Regions from separate parts of the Homo sapiens genome. Here regions 1 and 3 are each linked to region 2. Evidence: promoter capture Hi-C in 16 types of primary human blood cells and fetal thymus (Javierre and others, 2016). All regions are on one chromosome and are shown on one strand. The core of a region is centred on a gene start or on the middle of the fragment in contact, and the rest is flanking DNA. Distances in the headings are between cores, read along the strand shown. Region 1 overlaps ARHGEF37 (Rho guanine nucleotide exchange factor 37). Region 2 holds the start of CARMN (cardiac mesoderm enhancer-associated non-coding RNA). Region 3 overlaps ARHGEF37 (Rho guanine nucleotide exchange factor 37).

The links. Contacts are between HindIII fragments. The CHiCAGO score rates a contact against its expected background, and 5 or more counts as called.
Region 1: a contact is called between a fragment that was not itself captured here and the fragment with the promoter of CARMN in region 2, in 3 of 17 cell types (endothelial precursors, M0 macrophages and M1 macrophages). The highest score is 6.1, in endothelial precursors.
Region 3: a fragment that was not itself captured here is called in contact with the fragment with the promoter of CARMN in region 2 in 5 of 17 cell types (M1 macrophages, megakaryocytes, M2 macrophages and 2 more); the score reaches 7.8 in M1 macrophages.

The regions. Positions count from the first base shown.
Region 1 is chr5:149,621,560-149,624,259 of GRCh38, forward strand. It overlaps ARHGEF37 (Rho guanine nucleotide exchange factor 37), which reads left to right. Exons shown (of 13, transcript NM_001001669.3): 9 at 174-503; 10 at 2,453-2,581. Among named protein-coding and RNA genes, the nearest start is that of ARHGEF37, 41 kb to the left of the region's middle. The HindIII fragment of the contact is 1,021 bases long and covers 765-1,785 here.
Region 2 is chr5:149,405,483-149,408,182 of GRCh38, forward strand. CARMN (cardiac mesoderm enhancer-associated non-coding RNA) reads left to right here and starts at 1,363. Exons shown (of 5, transcript NR_105060.1): 1 at 1,363-1,596. RefSeq lists enhancers at 1, 1,852-2,700. The HindIII fragment of the contact is 6,163 bases long and covers 1-1,898 here.
Region 3 is chr5:149,596,125-149,598,824 of GRCh38, forward strand. It overlaps ARHGEF37 (Rho guanine nucleotide exchange factor 37), which reads left to right. Exons shown (of 13, transcript NM_001001669.3): 2 at 1,635-1,831. The coding sequence starts at 1,646. Among named protein-coding and RNA genes, the nearest start is that of ARHGEF37, 16 kb to the left of the region's middle. The HindIII fragment of the contact is 1,095 bases long and covers 824-1,918 here.

The sequences.
Region 1 (2,700 bases), core at 25-2,524, 220 kb after region 2:
TTTTTCAGATGGGCAGATTGAGGCCCAGAGAAGTTAGATAACATGCTAAAGGTCCCAGCTAGTCAGTGGGAGTTAGACTGGAATCCAGGCCTGCATGCTTCCAAAGCCCCTTCTCACAGCCCCTGCCCTTTGCCACCTCCTTTCCCGACTCCCACGCTCATGTCTCCCCACAGAAGCAACGGCTAGAAGGCCTGGTGTGGCAGCCACTGTGCAGCCTGGCCAAAGCCCTGCTTGGCCCTCAGAACCTGATCAAGAAGCGTCTGGACAAGCTACTGGACTTTGAGCGGGTGGAAGAGAAGCTGCTGGAGGTGGGCAGTGTGACCTACCAGGAGGAGGCCGCCCGGCACACATACCAGGCACTCAACTCGCTGCTAGTGGCTGAGCTCCCACAGTTTAACCAGCTGGTCATGCAGTGGCTGGGCCAGATCATGTGCACATTCGTGACCCTCCAGAGGGACCTTGCAAAGCAAGTGCTGCAGAGGGCAGAGGGAAGCATGGCCCAGGTAAGGCCTCTGAGACTTGGACACCTGTGGGGAGTAGCCAGGCAAGGCCCTGCAGCCCCATCAGCCAGCTGTGTGTAGGGGCTAGGATGGAGGGAGGATGGGCCTGAAAACAGGTCATCAGGCCCTTAGGAAGAGGCAGTGGGAACCTTCCAGATCTCTCTCATGCCCAGTCTCCCTCTGTTAGTGAAGTCAGACCATGAAAGCAAGGATAGGACTGAGATTTCAGACCATTCCCAAGTCCTGCAACTCAGAAGCAGAAGAAGCTTTGCTCATACAATGGCAGATCTTGGGACTGATCTCTGGAGTGTACTAGAAGTTGATGACAGAGACAGAAGGTCGTTTCTACACAGTAAGGAGTAAATGTCTCAAGCCGGTGTTACTATTACTACTTCCAGCAGCCATCTTCTCATGAGTATTTAGGATGTACCTGTTTGGAGCACTCTCCATGCATGATCTCATTCAATCCTCACAACAACCCTACAGAGGAGGTATAATTATACTCATTTTAAAAATAAAGAAGCCAAGGCACGGAGAGGTAAAGTAGCTTGTCTAGGGCCACACGGCTAATAGCAAGCATTGAACTCTGACAGTTCAGCTCCAGGGCCTGGACTCTGAACCACAACACTCAAGAGCCTGTAAAAGGAGCTACCGGCTGAAAGCATAAATAGGTTCCACAGAGGTTTGGATAAACCTCCAAATGCAAACTTTGATTTTAGAATTTGGAAGACTGGAGTTGATACAAGAAAGAACACCCAACTGCTTCCAGATCTTGCTCTCAGATGTCAACATGAGAGCTGAATTGCTGTTGGGTCCCACCTTGGGAGCAATTTCAATACTCCTAATATCACACACTGTTTCCTGTGTGTCACAGTCTCCAGCTCAGCTTTTCCCCATCCAATTCTTTGCATGAAAACTCTACTAAGATTTGCCTTCCCCACCCCATCACCTTTCTAGCCCACAGCCCTCCCCTCCAGCACACAGCTGCTGGATGTGGCCACTCTGCACAGACACCTGCCTCAGCTTAGAATGCCCCTCTCCATTGTCCCTGAGCACTTTCAGTGTCTGGCATAGAGTAGGAGCTCCCCAAACAAGTGGCAGATGAATGAGTCTCTCCATGAAGCTCTCAGAGCTCCCCATCTCCTGAGGGGGAGAAGTCATCTCCCTATCCTCTGTACTCCAGCAGCCCTGTGGATGGAACTGTGCTTAGTACTTTTCAGAGCCTGCCTTCTGCTGCAGGAATCCATGAATGTGTTTCTCCTCAAGCATGGGGACTGGGACTGCAAGCTTTTTCTCTTTTTGGCCCTCACAGAGTTCTGTCCCAGACACTCTGCAAATTGAATTAGGCCTGAACCATCAGTAAAAGAACTGTCTCTTCCTTGAGGGCAGAAGAGTAAATCTGATGAGGTTATCTTTTCCCTCTCCTGTAGCCTAGAGGTTTTCTCTCTTGGGCTGCCCCCAACCCCTTGCATTAAATCTGGGATGTGCAGAGCTAGGGAGTGTTTGGGGATGCCAGTAGAGAGGTGGTCACGTTTATAAAAGCAGAAAGTAAGGGCGCTTCCTGATTGGTCCATCAGAGTCTGCTGGTGACAGCTGCCAGCCTGCCTTATCTGTGTCCTGTGGTCCATGCATGTGGCCTGTCCCTGTGGAGCCTGGAAAAGGCTGCAGGCAGAAACCTCAATCTCCCTGAATCCTGGTGGGAGGAAGGCTCTAGGTCAGCACTAAGAACAATGAGTTTGGTGACAAGCTGTGAATCTGGTGACAAGCTGTGGCATCTCACTCACTCCTAGGTTGTCTGACGAAAATGCAAGAGATCCTGCACAGGGTCAAGGTCTCAGGACAGAGTATCACTCAGAACTCCTTGGGTTGAAAATAATATAAACCCAAAGCAAGCCAGGGATCTCATTGTCCCCTCTTGCCCAGCTCTGTTGACAGTGTCTGTCCCCACTTAGCTGCCCCACCACCACGTCCCAGAGCCTGCCTTCAGGAAGCTGGTGGAGGACGCACTGGGCCGGACGAGTAACCAGCTTCGCTCCTTTCAAGAGACCTTTGAGAAAGTGCAGCCACCTCCCACCACACAAGTAAGCATCCTTCCTCCACCCCAAAGACTGTCCAGTTCTTCACTGGCCAGTAGGGTGAGGCTCCATCCATCCCCTCTTTCCTTTCCTTTTTGGTCCCCCAATGTTTCCTGTTATCCATG
Region 2 (2,700 bases), core at 113-2,612:
CCTGGAAGGAGGAGAGAGGGATTGGCAGGCCCATCCAGGCTGGGGGTCTGAGGAACTGTGAATGAGGCCGTGAACAGAGACCGCTGGGGTCCAGCAGGCCTGGCTGCAGAAGGGAAGCTCTGCGCAGTGGAAGGCAGGACCCGGTGGCAGCCCTGGGAGCAGGCCCCGCTGGCCCCTGGGAGAAGACCTCCATGGGCCTCAGCACGACACTCCTAGGCTGGCAGCCGAGGCCTGGTTCACGTGATCCCTTGATTTGTGTTTTCTGACCTTTCTTCACAGACACTCTAGGAAGCCTGGGGACACAGAGCCTGCCAGGGGAAGTCACACTCTCATGAAAGAGCTAGCCAGCAAGAAACTAGAACCGTGGACATGTAAGATAGGCACATGCGTGGCGAGTCCGAAGCGGGAAGCAAGCAGAGGGTGTGACAGAATACTGAGGGGGCCAGGGAATGGCTCTTCCAGAGGAGACTTCTGAGTGGGAGACAGGAGCAGGGGAAGGAGCAGCATGAGCTCTGGGAAGAAGGCATTTTTGGCAGCGAGCAATGCAAGTGCAAAAGCCCTGAGGCATGAAAAACACTAAAGAATCTGTAGGAGGCCAAGGTGGCCAAGCAAAAGGAGAAAGAGGGACTCCGGCAAGAGATGGGCATTTCTCAGGACTGCGGTGGCAGGGAAAAGAGAGCCCCCTGAAGGACATTCCACATTCAAACCCCTGCCCTGTGGTGACCCTGCCAGGTGGCTGGGTCAGGATCTTCCCTGTCAGGCCCAGGCCTCGTTTGCATGATGATGGGAGTAGCTTCCCACGGTCTGGGCTCTCCTTCCCCATGTTCTCCTGTTCCCCCAATTCCCATCACCCAGATTCCAGGAGCCAGGACTGGTGTCTCCCCTACTGGAGGTTCCCAGAAAGTCTCAGAACTCCCACTGCAGTCCTGGGACACAGGGGCTGGGGGAGGAAGGAAATTCTCACACAGCTTTCTCCCAGGGAGTTTGCTCTTGTTCCCAGGCTGACAACTGGCAACCCTCAGAACTCTGTTCCCCACCCCCTTCCTCCTCCTCCTCCTCCTCCTCCTCCTCCTCCTCCTCCTCCTCTCCCTGCCTCCCTCTCTCCCCTGCCCCCCTTCTCAGGCTTAATGACTTCCACATGGGCCTCTGGTGGCTGGAGCCAAGGCTCCCAGCATTGTCTGAAATCTCCAAATTTAGAAGAAATATGAAAATTGTCAACCACTCCTTCCTTAGGGGGTAAAAGCAACATTCAGCACCGGGGGCAGGTCAAGGCAAGGTAGTCACGTGGGGGGTGCCTGGGCCAATGGGGGGCCCTGGGAGGGCTCAGCACCCGCCTCGCCCCAATACGGGGCTTGCCTCTTCAGCTCATATAAGGTAAAAGGCAGAGTGGCCTCTGTGGCCAGGGAGCCGCAGGCAAGGGACTAAGGGGAGGGGGGCTCAGTGCCAGCTGCTTAAAAATGCCCCTGTGGCAGCGAGGGGCACCAGAGGCTGGGTCTAATTAGTTGAGAAGCAGTGACACCCCCAACCACTCCCCAAACAGGCTGGCTCCCGTCTCCAGGCCCCAAGGAGCCACACCTGGACCAGACCCCAGGAAAGGTAAGCACCAACGGCAGACCTGGGATCCGTGGGTGGGGGCCTCTGGGAATTTCCCTAGGGGGATGCTGCATCTGGGGGTCTTGCTGTCTTGCTAACTGGCTCTGTCCCTTTCTGGACACAGATTCTCTGGGTCTCAGTTTCCCCATCTGTACAGGGGCTGGAGTCAATGATCTCTAAGCATCCATCCAGCTGATCGGCTCTAGTTCTATGGTCCTGTTGGCTTCTAGGATTCCTTGTTGTTGTAGTCAATTGGGGGAAGAAGGTGCAGAGGGAGTGCACAGAGTTAACATCCTATCAGCCCAAGCTTCACCTCGGCACCCGAGTCTCAGGCAGTCTCCCTGGCTTCTACATAGGCAGTGCTTCTTCCTCATTGTGTGGGGCTTTGATTTTGTAATTCCAAGAGCCTGGGGCTCCTGGCAAGGAAAATGGTTTTCAAATAATGGTTTCGAGAAACAAAGCTGGGGAAGAGGCAATGTAAGCTCAGGCTCTGGCAGGCAGGCAGAGATCCTGGGAAGGCTGGGTGCTGACTGCACATGGAGCAATGGGAAGGGATGCTGGTGAGAGGAGACGGGGGCACTTAAGCTCCGGCCCCAGCTCTGCTCTCAGTGCCCGGCTCTGTGGTCTTGGGCTGGCCCCCTCCCTTCTCTGGGCCATAGTTTTCCCATCTGTATAGCAAGGCCATTGGACAAAATGGTCCCTCTGCAGATGTGGCTTCTGAGTTGTTTGTGCCTGAGGGACAGCCAGTGTTGGGAAGTTCCCCCAGGAGGTCCCTGAGCCGAGTCTGAACTTTGACCACAAGCTTGGAGTCCAAGCAGATGAAGTCCTGTGGGAGCTTTTGGAGGTTGAGCCTGAGTGAGGGAGAGTAGCTGAAGGTTCTGTGACTGAAGGCTTGGCCAGAGGGGTGCCCCGAGCCCTCCAGATGAACTTGGCTGCAACCAGCCTCTGGTGGGGAAAGGACTGATCTCTGGATTCAACCACACAGGAATGTGGGACATGGAAGTAGGTAAGGGATGGAAAAGATGGCAGAGGGCTTCGCGGGATGAAGCAGTGGGGCCAGGGGACTTAGAGGAATGCAGGAGGCTTGTGATGGGAGGCAGGGCTGGG
Region 3 (2,700 bases), core at 121-2,620, 190 kb after region 2:
TCAGCTCAGCTGCTCCCCACCGTAGTTTTCAATTCCCTGTTTGAGGGCCCTAGTGATTTCTTTTCCTCCCTTACAAGATCTGTCATGCAGTTAAAAAGTTTATTATAACTGATCTAGCATTCCTAAGTGTTTTGTAGTAGGAAAGTTTTTCAGATCATCTTGTCCATGGTATTGCCCTTTACGCTTTATTATTATTTTGAGATGGAGTCTTGCTCTGTCACCCAGGCTGGAGGGCAGTGGCACAATCTCGGCTCACTGCAACCTCCACCTCCTGGGTTCAAGTGATTCTCTTACCTCAGCCTCCCGAGTAGCTGGGATTACAGGTGTGCACCACCACACCCGGCTAATTTTTGTATTTTGAGTAGAAATGCGGTTTTACCATGTTGGCCAGGCTGGTCTCGAACTCCTGACCTCAGGTGGTTTGCCCACCTCAGCCTCCCAAAGTGCTGGGATTACAGGCGTGAGCCACCGCACCCGGGCCCTTGATACTTTATAAGTTAGAGATAAAGGATTGCAGGAGTTTCAGAGAAGAAAAGTGCAGCTGGTGGGAGTGAGAAATGAGGGGAGGATCAAGAGTAGCCTTAGAGAAGTGAATGCTGGGGGATAGGAACACAGGAGGGGGCATGGCAAGTGCAAAAGCAGGAAATGCCAATGCAAGTATGGAGAAGAGCGCTCAACTCTCTTTCCACTGCAGTACAACCTGTGAAGAGGAAATGAAGTTAGAGCCTGGAGTGCAGTCTGTGAAGGGGAAATGAGGTTGGAATCAGATCACTGAGCAGCAGGAAGCTACTAAAGTCTTACAGCAGGGCACACCATGTTCACAAGCTTTGTTTCAGGGAGTTTAAACTGGAAATGTGTCCAGAAAGAATGGGTGTGGTGGTGGCAGGAGAGCAGTGTGGATTAGGAAGGATGACTCTGAGGGCTGTGGAAATAGCCCAGGCGATGGGTAGTAAGGCCTAAATGGGGTAGCTGGTGGGATGGGGTGTAGGGGGACCACTGGGAGAGGGTGAAAGAGATTCAGCTGTACCAGATAAAGAAATCTAGGTCAAGAGCTGGATTGGAAATAGAAGAAAAGCCAGGCAAGCATGTTGTCTGGGTCCTGGGAAATGAATTCAAAATGTCAAGAATTATCTATTAAAAAAAAATTTTTTTTGTAAGAATCTTGCTCTGTTGCCCAGGCTGGAGTGCAGTGGTGTGATCTTGGCTCACTGCAACCTCTGCCTCCCGGGTTCAAGTGATTCTTCTGCCTCAGCGTATCTGAGTAGCTGGGACTACAGGAGCCCGCCACCATGCCTGGCTAATTTTTGTATTTTTAGTAGAGACGGGGTTTCATCATGTTGGCCAGGCTGGTCTCGAACTCCTGACATCAGGTGATCTGCCCACCTTGGCCTCCCAAAGTGCTGGGATTACAGGCATGAGCCACCACCTAAAATGTCAAGAGTTATCAGAGCTGTTACCTGCCTTTCAATATTGTTCAGGTACTGCCTACAAATGCTAATAAACAGTTCATCTTGACTCTGTTTGCAGCTTAAGATGTTTTTAGGCCTCTTGATGAGTAATTGTCATTGAATTAGAGACAGCATGTCCCAATAGTTCTTCCTGGAAGTGAGTGGGGATGCTTTTGCTTTTCCCAGAACCTGCTGACATGGCCAAGCATGGAGCCGACGAGCCATCCTCCAGGTCAGGGAGTCCGGACAGGGAAGGTAGGGCCTCTGAGGACAGATCGCTGCTTCATCAGAGGCTGGCTGTCCGGGAGCTCATCGACACTGAGGTCTCCTACTTGCACATGCTCCAGCTCTGTGCCTCTGACATCAGGAGCCGCCTCCAGCAGGTACTTGGGTGGGGTCACACACAACCTGTCTTTATAGGGGCAAATGTGGGTCCCAGCTTCTGAGATTTCTCATCCATTCCTGGGGCAAGCTTGACAGAAAGGAAGCGTGGTAGATGTGAAGTCTGACAGACCTGGATGTAAGCCCCAGTACTTCTTTTCCTTGGCCGTGCAACCTCCATCAAGGTCTTCCATGGCTTAGAGTCTTAGTGTATTCCTTGGCTAACTGGTGAGCGGAATAATCACTGGGAGACCTATGTGAGCTAATGAACAAGCCCTTTTCAAGTTTGGAACAGATTGCTTAAACTGACTCTTCTTCTTCTTCTTCTTCTTCTTCTTCTTCTTCTTCTTCTTCTTCTTCTTCTTCTTCTTCTTTCTTCCTCTTCCTCTTCCTCTTCTTCTTCCTCTTCCTCTTCTTCCTCTTCCTCTTCTTCCTCTTCCTCTCCTTCCTCTTCCTCTTCTCCTTCTTCTCCTTCTCCTTCTTCTCCTTCCTCTTCTTTCTTCTTCCTCTTCTTTCTTTTTCCTCTTCTTCTTCTTCCTCCTCTTCTTCTTTTTTTCCTGCTTCCCCTTCAAGGGTCTCTTTATTCGATCACAAAGTCACTGTCAGCGACTTGGCCTGGCCCTCTATGGCTTCCAACAAGGAAATGCTTAAAAGTCAGGAAATGCATTTGCTGCCTTTCCTAGTACCAAAAATTGACTACAACCTCTTTGGGTACCCTGAGATAAATCAATAGCATTTGCTTTTTCTTTACTTTTCTAACAGAATTCCAGAAAAAATAAATCTCATATATATATATCTATATATAGATATAGATATAGATATAGATATATAGATATAGATATATAGATATATATATGTGTGTGTGTGTGTA